Regions from separate parts of the Homo sapiens genome. Here regions 2, 3 and 4 are each linked to region 1. The links are contacts of gene promoters, found by promoter capture Hi-C in blood cells and fetal thymus (Javierre and others, 2016). All regions are on one chromosome and are shown on one strand. Each heading gives the region's core, a stretch centred on a gene start or on the middle of the fragment in contact. The rest is flanking DNA. Distances are from core to core; before and after follow the strand shown.

Evidence for each region. Contacts are between HindIII fragments. The CHiCAGO score rates a contact against its expected background, and 5 or more counts as called.
Region 2: a fragment that was not itself captured here is called in contact with the fragment with the promoter of NPC1L1 in region 1 in 1 of 17 cell types (monocytes); the score reaches 5.4 in monocytes.
Region 3: a fragment that was not itself captured here is called in contact with the fragment with the promoter of NPC1L1 in region 1 in 1 of 17 cell types (naive B cells); the score reaches 5.2 in naive B cells.
Region 4: a contact is called between a fragment that was not itself captured here and the fragment with the promoter of NPC1L1 in region 1, in 1 of 17 cell types (naive CD8 T cells). The highest score is 5.7, in naive CD8 T cells.

Annotation. Positions count from the first base shown.
Region 1 is chr7:44,539,922-44,542,621 of GRCh38, forward strand. It overlaps NPC1L1 (NPC1 like intracellular cholesterol transporter 1), which reads right to left and starts at 1,409. Exons shown (of 19, transcript NM_001101648.2): 1 at 1,285-1,409; 2 at 1-421. The coding sequence starts at 1,338. RefSeq lists an enhancer at 81-702. The HindIII fragment of the contact is 6,836 bases long and covers 1-2,700 here.
Region 2 is chr7:45,248,212-45,250,911 of GRCh38, forward strand. No RefSeq gene overlaps it. Among named protein-coding and RNA genes, the nearest start is that of RAMP3, 92 kb to the left of the region's middle. The HindIII fragment of the contact is 2,089 bases long and covers 271-2,359 here.
Region 3 is chr7:43,956,631-43,959,330 of GRCh38, forward strand. It overlaps the pseudogene POLR2J4. Among named protein-coding and RNA genes, the nearest start is that of UBE2D4, 32 kb to the left of the region's middle. The HindIII fragment of the contact is 6,737 bases long and covers 1-2,700 here.
Region 4 is chr7:45,159,879-45,162,578 of GRCh38, forward strand. The region is part of intron 1 of RAMP3 (receptor activity modifying protein 3); the gene reads left to right. Among named protein-coding and RNA genes, the nearest start is that of RAMP3, 3.4 kb to the left of the region's middle. The HindIII fragment of the contact is 5,307 bases long and covers 1-2,700 here.

The DNA.
Region 1 (2,700 bases), core at 159-2,658:
AGGCCTCATAGGCCACCACAGCTGGGAGTTGTCCAGCCCCTAGCTGGGCCACGCGGGTCACATTGATGAAGAGGCTCTGATTGGGGCTGCACGTGTTGTGGCAGTGCAGGTTCACAAAATTGTCAGAGCAGGCTGGGCAGCGGGTGAGGAGGGCCTTGGTGATCGACAGACTCGCTTCCAGTGATACCAGCTGCTTGGCGGAGCAGCAGGCTTGGGTGTTGGGGCCGGTGTAGAGGCGGGGGCAGATCTTCTGTAATAGGATCAGGTGATCACCTGTGATCTTGCGGGCCGGCGTGTTGGACAGGCAGGACACGTTGGAGAGTGTCATGAGGCTTCCAGACAGCTCTGGGTTCTTCCCACATTCGTCATAGAAGGCGCAGTAGCCAGGCTGGTGGATGGTTGTGTAAGGCTCACTCTGGGCCTGCAGAGCACAGCAACATCACGCGTGGGCCCTGACACAGCTGGGTGCCATCCAGGCAGCAGGCAGCCAGGGAGGGTGTGAGGGTAAGAAGGACATGGAGCAGGGGCAGGGAAGCGGGGAGTGTGGGGAGTAGGAAGCCTCCTGGAGGCATGTGCCAGCCAGCCAGTGTTGGAGTGACAACACTGGCCTTTCTTCCTGGGGGTGGCCTGATAGACCTGCAGCTTAGGAAAGTCATGCTGGAGAGGCCAGAGATGGGTAAGGAGGCAAAGCTGACTCCAAGGTCCCGGGCTCTGCCCACGTCAAAGTCAGCCTGAGTCCCCACACTGTACACCACATCCAGAGGCCAGGGTCTCTCATGGAGAGTCTGTTCAGGAGGCCCCCCGACTCCCACCACCACTACCACCACCTGCTTGAGGCCAAAAGCTGTCACCCACCTCCCAGACACAAAGTAAGCGAGGAACTTAAGAGGTGCCAGCGCTGGATCTTCTCCCAGCCTCCAGAGTGCTCAGTCCTCCCTAGGTGATGCTCACCAGGTAACCCCATCCCAGCACCTCCTTGCCTCAGACCTCCCTCAACTGCAGGCCTGGACCCCACAGTAGGGCCAGTGACAGGAGGGACTTGGAGCACCCCAGTCCAGCAGCCTCTTTCACCCCTGTGTGCATTCAAGCCTGTAACCTGGAAACCCTCCACCTGCACCCCTCCTCTGTGGGGCCTGGCATCCCTCATGTGTCCAGAGACTTGCCCAGCCCGCAGGCCCTGAGGCTCCCTTGCTGTCACCCAGTAACGCTCGCCTGGTACACGGCTGGCCCCAGGGTCCCTAACTGGAGGCCGCAGGGGAGGTGGAGCCAAGCCCTGGGACTCACCAAGCGCAGGAGCAGGGCCCACAGCAGCCAGCCCCTCAGGCCGGCCTCCGCCATCCCAGGTCTGGGAAGGGGTCAGCGGGGAGCCAGGCCAGGCCTCAGGAACAGCCAAGGGCTGAACACACATTAAGGCAGCCTCCTCCCCTTCGATGACAACCCTGGCCTGACTGGGTTAGGGACCAATGAGGCTGAGCCCTGCTGGTTAATGATCCACCACTCCCACTGTTTGGCCCCAGTCCACAGGCCCCCGCTTTAGATGAGCCTCATCACGCAGGTGCTAGGGTCTCCACTCACTTCCCAAAGCGACCGAAGCCAGAGGGCTGAGTCAGCTAGGGGAGAGACCACGCTATTAGCCCCTAACACTGCTGGAGTTGGTGCCAGGGCCTGGAGGCACAGATGGGACCAGGCACTGGCTGGGACCCGGCCTCAGGAGCTCAGCATGGCCGAGGAACCTCCGCACCCTCCCTGGCTCAGCCTCAGACCCCAGCTCTGCCCTACCCCCTCTTGGGACCAGGGCCAGCAATGGGCTCAGAGGAACCCTCTGCACTGTCATCCCTAGCAACTGTTGTTAATTAATATTAACAGCCTGATAACGGAGGGGCAGGCAGGGTGGAGTGACGCAGTGACAAAAGTCCCCTCCTCCAGGAAGCAAAGGGAAAGAACAGCTCACTCTAGGGCCTGACAGTTGACAGAGACCCCAGATAGTGGAAGACTCTCCTTTGCTCACTTTGCTCTTCATCCCCTCTTCCCCCCGACCTTCTCCCTCTTGTCCCTTGCCCAGGCCTGTCCCACCGGTCACCCCTAGCAAGGGACAGAGCATGGCTGGGAGCCTTGAGCAGCAGCCCTGCTCCACCTGGGCCCAGGGGTGTGGTACACACTTTCTGCTCCCTCCTGATAGGAATCTTCAAGGCCTACCTTGGGTTCTCACTATCACCAGGATGGGCCATGACCTTTACCCCCATTTGGTAATGGGCCCCCATTACCAAAGCTGAGCTGCAGATAAGGGCAGCTTGTTGGGAACATCTCCTGCGTGGCCACCTACTGGAGACAGCTGCAGGAAGGGACCTGTCTCTAGTGTTCTGTGGACCCCTGCCTGATTCACAGGGGAGCCACCCAGCCTCATGCAGGAGAAGACAGAGGCTGAGAGGAAGGGGGCCAAGGCAGGGTCAGGCTGACCCCTAAGTTCTCAAGACAGCCATAGTGGAGAGGAAGACAGTCAGCAGCCAAGGACCTGCCCCTGTGAGTGACAGCTCCATCCAGCACCTTCCCAGCACTGCTCCCAAGTCCCTGGCCGGCAGAGGCGGACACCCCACCACCCATGAAGCTGCCTCTCTAGGTCCTCTGTTCCCGGTGTTGTCATCTAGTTCCTCCAGAAACAGATCCTGAAACAAGGATCCCAGTGCAAAGAGTTTATTGGGG
Region 2 (2,700 bases), core at 65-2,564, 710 kb after region 1:
AATAAAGACATTTTCAGATAAACAAAGACTGAGATAATTCATTGTTGGGGACATGACTTATAAGAAATATAATGAGAGTCTTTCAGATTGAAAAGAGAGGACACTAGACTAGCAACTCAGATCCACATGAAGAAATAAACCAGCAAAGGTTATTGTACAGGTAAAAGATAAAAGACAAAAGATAGTATAAAGATATATTTTTAAACTCTTTTCTTCCCCTAACTGATTTTAAATGACAACTGAAAAAAACAATTGCAAAATGGTGTTATAAGCTTTTAGTGTATAAAGTTGTAATTTATATGACAATTATAGCACAAAGGAGTGGGGAGAGAAGATACTATACTGAAGTCAAGTTTCTCTATACTATTGCAATAAAGTTAAGATTAAGTTAAAATATGTAATGTAATCCTCAAAGCTAGTGCCAAGAAAATGACTTAAATATTTAGTAAAGATAACAAAGGAAAATTTAAGAAATATTAGAAAAGAATAAAAATCCCAAATCAACAACCTAGGATTTTATTCAAGAATCCTAAAAATAAGAGAAAACTAAATAATTAAGATTAGAACTGAAACCAATGACATAGACATAGAAAAAATATGGAGAAAATCAGTAAATCCAAAAGTTGGTTTTTTGAGAAGATCAACAAAATTGGCTAACCTTTTTATTATTGAAAAAGAGGAAGAGGAGACACAGATCATCAAAATTAATAATGAAAAAGTGGTATTACTATTGATCTTTCAGAAAGTAGAGGATTAAAAGGGAATACTAAAAATAACTTTATGCCAATAAATTCAACAACATAGATGAAATGGATGAATTACTAGACAGACACATATTACTAAAACTGACTCAAGGAGAAATTAAAAATCTGAATAGAACTATGAGAAGTAAAAATATTTAATTAGTAACTTAAATTAGTAATTTATAAACTTCTCACAGAAAAAGCCCAGGCCCATATGGCTTCATTGGTAAGTTCTACTAAACACTTAAAGAAGAATTGACAACAATTCTTCACAAACTAGTCTAGAAAATAGAAAAAAGAGTAACAGTTCCCAACTGACTGTATGAGGCCCTGATACAAAAGTCAGTCAAACATACCACAACAACAACAACAAAAAAACGAAACTACAAACCCACATCTCTTACGAATATAGATGCAAAAATTATCAACGAAATACTAGCAAACTAAATCCAGCAAAATCTAAAAATGGTTAGACACTATGACCAAGAGGGATTTATCCTAGGACTACAAAGTCGATTTAACATTCAAAAAATCAACTAATATTAATAGAAGAAAGGACAAATGCCACATGGTCACTTCAATAGATGCAGAAAAAGTATTTGACAAAATCCAACGTCCATTCATGACAAAATACTCTCCATAAACTTGGAAAAGAAGGGAATTTCCTCAGCCTGATAGAAGTCATCTACAAAAAAACCTAAACTCATAGCAGGCGAAGATGTGTACACTTGCCACTTCTTTTCAAAACTTGCTGGAGGTTCTAGCCAGATCAATCAGGCAAAAAAAAAAAGAAAAGAAATGAAAGGTATCTACATTTGAAAGCAAGAAGTAAAACTGACTGTGTTTGCAGAAGACATAATCTTGCATGTAGAAAATCCTAAAGAATATACACACACACAAATATACACACATACAGGCTGTTAGAACTAATGATCAAGTATAACAAGGATGTACTATACAAGATCAGTTTATAAAAATCAATTGTATTTTGCCTGAACCCAGGAGGTGGAGGTTGCAGTGAGCCAAAATGGCACCACCGCACTCCAGCCTGGTGACAGAGTGAGACTCCATCTCAAAAGAAAAAAAAAAAAACCAATTGTATTTTTATTTACAAATAACCTGAAAATGAAAGTAAGAATACAATACCTCTTACAATAGCATCAAAAAGAATAACATAAGTAAGAATAAATTTATCAAAAGAAGTACAAAAATTGTATACTGAAAATTATGAAACATTATTGAAGTTGCCAGCCAAGATAAACTTAGATTCTTTCATTACTGTATACCAAAATAACTCAAAATGTATCATAGACTTTAAGGGTTAATAAAATAAAAATCTTGAAGAAAACCTAAGAGAAAATCTTTGAGACCTTGGGTTAGGCAAAGATATCTTAGATATAACACCAAAAGCACAGTTTGTAAAGGAACAAAAACTATAAATTGGACTTCGTCTTAACTTTTTTGCTTCAAAAGAAATCATTAAGGAAAGGAAAAGATAAGAACATATTTGGAAAAATACTTGAATAATAAATGCTGTTCAAAAGAAGTTCAAATCAAAAAGTTGTTCAGAAGAGAAGGAAAGCTAATGTGATAGTTCAATGAGTCGTGGAAGAAAAAGCTTTGAAGTTAGAAATATGCATTCACATTTCAGCTGAGCCATTTCCTACTTTTTTGCTTTGGGACACAATTTTCTGAGCCTGGGGATCATCAGGTCCACAGGATTGAAGGGTTGCTTGATGATTGTGGTTAGAGGTAAGCTCTTAACAAATGATGACTATTATTGTCGTAATAATACATGATATGGTCTTATTAAATAAGATAATGCATGTAAAGCACCTAGTAGTTCCTTGTGCATATTAAATATTCAAAAATGTTATCTATTATTAATCACTAAGTTATTATATCAGAATCCAAAAGGAAAGCTAAAGTATGATCATGCCCCATTTTAATTCTCTGA
Region 3 (2,700 bases), core at 121-2,620, 580 kb before region 1:
GTAATCCCAGCCCTTTGGAAGGCTGAGGTGGGAGAACTGCCTAAGGTCAAGAGTTTGAGACCAGCCAAGGCAACATAGTGAGACCCTGTCTCTTATTAAAAAAAGGAAAGGAAAAAAATTTTTCAAGAGGAAGAAAGTAACAAAGGACATATAAAACATCAGAAACCAATTAACAAAATGACAGGAATAAGTCCTCACTCATCAATAACAACCTTGAATGTAAAGAGTTCAAACTTCCCAATTAAAATATATAGCCTTGTTTAGCCGGGCATGGTGCCACATGCCTGTAATCTCAGCTACTCAGGAGGCTGAGGCAGGAGAATCACTTGAACCCGGGAGGTGGAGGTTGCAGTGAGCCAAGATCATGCCACTGCACTCCAGCTTGGGTGACAGAGTGAGACTCTATCTCCAAAAAAATACAATTAAAAAAATATATATATACACACACATAATACCCTTGCTGAGTGGGTTAGAAAAACAAGATCCAGGCGAGGCATGGTGACTCACAACTGTAATCCCCATGCTTTGGGAAGCTGAGGCAGGAGGATGTCGCTTGAGTTCAATACCAGCCTGGGCAACAGAGCAAGACCACTAGCTCTAAAAAAAAAAAAAAAAAGCTGGGCCTCGTGGCATGTGCCTGTAGTCCCAGCTACTCGGGAGGCTAAGACATGAGGGTTGTTTGAGTTCAGGAGTTGAAGGCTGCAGCTGAGTTATGATTGCCACTGCACTACAACCTGTGTGACAAAACAAGACCTTGTCTCTAAAATAAATTTTGTAAAATGAATTTAACAAAAACAAGATCCAGCTATATGCTGCCTATAAGGAACTCACTAAAAAGATGCATACAGACTAAGTGATGGGATGAAAAAAGATATTCCACTCAAATGTAAACTAAAAGCATGCAGGACTAGCTATACTTATATCAGACAAAATAGACTTTAAGTCAGTCAAAAAACAAAAAGAGAAAAGGTCATTATATAATGATAAAGGGATCAATTCAGCTAGAGGATATAACAATTGTAAATATATATGCACTCAACACTGGAGCACCCAGATATATAAAATAAATATTACTAGAGATAAAGAGAGAGATAGACCCCAGTACAATAAGTTGGGGACTTCAGCACCTACTTTCAGCATTGGACAGATTATGGTCTAGAAAATCAACATAGAGGCATGAGACTTAAAATACGCTATAGACCAATGAATCTAAGAGACATTTACAGACTATTTCATTCAACAGCTGCAGAATACATATTCTCATCAGCACATGGAACATTCTCCAGGATAGCCCATATGTTAGGCCACAAAATAAATCTCAACAAATATTTAAGAATCAAAATCCTATCAAGTATCTTATTAGACCACAATGGAATAAAAAGCAGTATGTTGCAGCCTCCAGAACTGTGAGAAACAAATTTCTGTTCTTTCTAAATTAAAAAAACAAAAAGCACTAGAAGTAAGTAACACAAGGAACTCTGGAAACTGTACAAATACATGAAAATTAAACAACACCATCCTGAAAGATCAAGGGGACAGTGAAGAAATTAAGAAGAGGCTGAGTGAGGTGGCTCACACCTGTAATCCCAGCACTTCAGGAGGCCAAGGAGGGCAGATCACTTGAGGTCATGAGTTCAAGACCAGCCTGGCCAACATAGCAACACCCCCATCTCTACTAAAAATACAAAAATTAACGGGCCAGGCATGGTGGCTCACACCTGTCATCCCACCACTTTGGGAGGCCACGGTGGGCGGATCACCTGAGCTCAGGTGTTCGACACCAGCCTGGGCAACACACTGAAACCCCATCTCTACTAAAAATACAAAAAATTAGCTGGGTGTGGTGGTGTGTGCCTGTAGTCCTAGCTACTCGGGAGGCTGAGGCAGGAGACTCTCTTGAATCTGGGAGGCGGAGGTTGCAGTGAGCCAAGATTGCACCGCTGCACTCCAGCCTGGGCAACAGAGCAAGACTCTGGCTCAAAAAAAAAACAAAAAACAAAAAAACGAAAAAGATACAAAAATTAGCTGGGTGTGGTGGCGTGCGCCTGTAATCCCAGCTACTCGGGAGGCTGAGGTAGGAGAATCGCTTGAACCTGGGGGGGCAGAGCCAAAATTGTGCCACTGCACTCCAGCCTGGGTGACAGAATGAGACTCTGTCTCAAAAAAAAAAAAAAAAAAAAAATTAGTGCCGGGCGCGGTGGCTCACGCCTGTAATCCCAGCACTTTGGAAGGTCGAGGCAGGCGGATCACGAGTTCAGGAGTTCGAGACCAGCTGATCAACATAGAGAAACCCCATCTCTACTAAAAATACAAAATTAGCCAGGTGTGGTGGCGCATGCCTGTAATCCCAGCTACTCAGGAGGCTGAGGCAGGAGAATCACTTGAACCCAGAAGGCGGAGGCTGCAGTGAGCCAAGATTGTGCCATTGCACTCCAGCCTGGGCAACCAGAGCAAAACTCCATCTCAAAAAAACAAAAAACAAAAAAAACACACAAACCTAAACTGCCTCTGTAACACTAATGAAAGGCCACCAGGTTAGAAGGATGAGAGGGGCCTGAATTTGTAGTTAAATGATTACTGCCATTATTCCAAAGGTCACAAGATTTACAACTTCCCCCAATAACTCCTGTAAATAACATCACTATTGTGGAACCTAAGATTGGCCTTTTGAGATGTCTTTTCAGGCTTTTGCATCTCTGA
Region 4 (2,700 bases), core at 46-2,545, 620 kb after region 1:
GTGTGTGTGCCTGTGTGTGCAAGCGTATGAACATGGTACCATCGTTTTTATCATTAAATGATGTCCTGCTGCCATGTTACCTGTGGTCATATTGATTCTACTGAATCAAGTGGGCCCAAGGGCCATGGTTGGATAGCAGTAACTCTGGTGAATTAAAGACTTGGAGGTGGCCGGCCGGGTGCGGTGGCTCACGCCTGTAATCCCAGCACTTTGGGAGGCCAAGGCGGGCAGATCTCGAGGTCAGGAGATCGAGACCATCCTGGCCAACATGGTGAAACTCCGTCTCTACTAAAAATACAAAATATTAGCCGGGTGTGGTGGTGCATACCTGTAGTCTCAGCTACTCAGGAGGCTGAGGCAGAGGAATCGCTTGAACCTGGAAGGCGGAGATTGCAGTGAGCCGAGATCATGCTATTGCACTCCAGCCTGGTGACAAAGCGAGACTCTGCCTCAAAAAAAAAAAAAAAAAAAAAAAAAAAAAAAAAAAAAAAAAGACTTGAAGGTGGTGATTGGCCAAGAAGAGGCCCATAGATTTTTGGCACTGGAGGTTCCTTGGAGGTTATCTGACCTCCATGCTCTTACCTATTCTTCATAAGGAAACAGAAATCTGGAGGTTAGAGAGGAAGTTGCCCAACCACAGAGACCAGGGGCAGAACCGCCCAGAATCCACAGCCTCCCAAGGTCGACTGACCGTGGCCCATGGCAGCCACTTGCCAGTCTCGTCGATGCTCTTTCTGTCAAGGAGGGGGAGAGCGCCTGTGTTTCATTTCCAAATGACTAGCCACAAAAGCCCTTTCTGGCGGAAATGCATCTGTTTGGCTGTTTATCATCTCTCAGTGGCGTCTGGAAGTCCCTGAGACAAAAGAAACACAGGCCGGCATGTTCTTTGTTTCCCAATGAAACCAACCAAAATGGATTTCTATTTTGATTCAGTTCCTGCGACCTTTACTAATGCAGCCAGTAGCTTGATTGGCAATGGCCCTCTTTTGTGGTGTTGCCAGGAATCTGTCTTTACACCATTGTTCTAACATTGGGTGGGTTGTCAGGTTTTGCTGGGAGCCCCTCAAGCCTCATGTGCACTAGAAATGAGCTCCCTGGGGAGGGCACTTGGTTTCTCAGGGTGCCTGCCTTGTGCAGGCCCAGGGCTGGTGCTGTCACAGGCATCCTCATAGCACCTCCGTGGGTAGAGGAGTTATCCCAGAACACCTGCCTGAGGATGGCATGTGGTCCTCAAAGGCACATTTACAATCTGCCTGAGCCAGGTCCTTGCGATGGGGCATGTGAAGATTATGGAGTATGTAGAGATTTGGGGCATGCAGAGATTCAGGGAGGGGCATGTTGTCAGGGACCCCTCCTTCTCTTTTTAGATAGCTGTGCGACCTGGGTGGGTATTTGTAGAGCCGTGGGGGAGGGGCTGGGCAATGCCCTGGCACTGGGGGTGGTGGGGAATTGATGCTGTCTTTGCCTGGCTCAGTGAGGGAGATCAGGGGCTCAGGGAGAATAATAGTTGCCTGAGGGTAATGAATACTTATCAGGACCTTGTCCCTGAGCTGTGTTTCAGAGCATCATAGTTAATGTGAAAATGTGGCAGACACAGGCCCTGTGTAGGGAGGTGGGCTGTAGGAACAGCCATGACTTGGGCTGGCTGCGGCAAATACCTCCAGGAAAGGGCTGGGGAGGAGAAGGCAGTGGTTCAGATTCATTCTGACTTCCAAGAAGAGGAGGAAGGAAGGAGAGGAGAGGAAACAGGGGAGGGGGAGGAGGGTAAAGAAGGACAGGGGAAGGAGGAAGAGAGGAAGAAGGGGAAGGAGGGGGAGGCAGAGGAGGAAGAAGAACTGGGCTGGGTCTCGGTGGCCTGATAGGTGACAGTCAGAGTAGGCTGAGGGGGGACCAGGCCAAGTGGTCCAGGTCTAGGGGTTCAGATTCAGACCTAGGGGTCCAGGTGGACCAGGCTGCAGGTGTGGGCACTGGCCAGGAGGGACAGGGTGGGGCTAGCCTGGCTCGTGCCCATTGGGATGGTGGGCGGAGCTCAGGAGACCCACCCAAGGGTGCTGAGAGAATCTGTTAGGGAGTGACGCCAGACCCAGGGGTGAGGACAGGAGCTGGATGTGGAGAGCAGCTAGGCGAACCTTCAGAGTCCAAGGCAGGGGCAGCTTTAGGGTGAAGGTGCACAGGCCGCCTTAGTCCTCGTGTGACTCCACGTGGTCCCTGGGGCTTGCACCCCTTGGTCACTTATGCCAGGGCTGTCTTTTCACCTGCAGGCAGGTGCAGTTGAGCAGGGTGGCAGAGGGAGGCCTTGGGAAAGTCGCTTTCTTTTGGGCCTCCATCGTCCCATCTCTAAACTGAGGGAGGTGGTGAAGGAGGCATGATGTTTTTCAGGCCCTTCCCAGGATCAATGCCGACCTGTACTCCAGAATCTGTTGCAGAGCCCAGGCTTGACATGGAGCTTGGAAGTGCCCACTGGGAGAGAAGGAAAGGAAGGTGGGGATCGGGGACCAGGGCTAAGTGGGGCCACTCCAGCCAGGAGCCCTCAGGGCAAGGAGGTGAGCCTTGGATGCAGCCCTGCTTGGCAGACCAAGGGTGGGAATTGGAGTGAGGGTGTCAGTGTGAGGCAATGGTGACATGCCACCTGGAGACAGCTCTGTGGGCAGGTGGCCTGGCTTTGAACCTTGACTCCCCTGCCTTGTCTAAGTGAGGAAG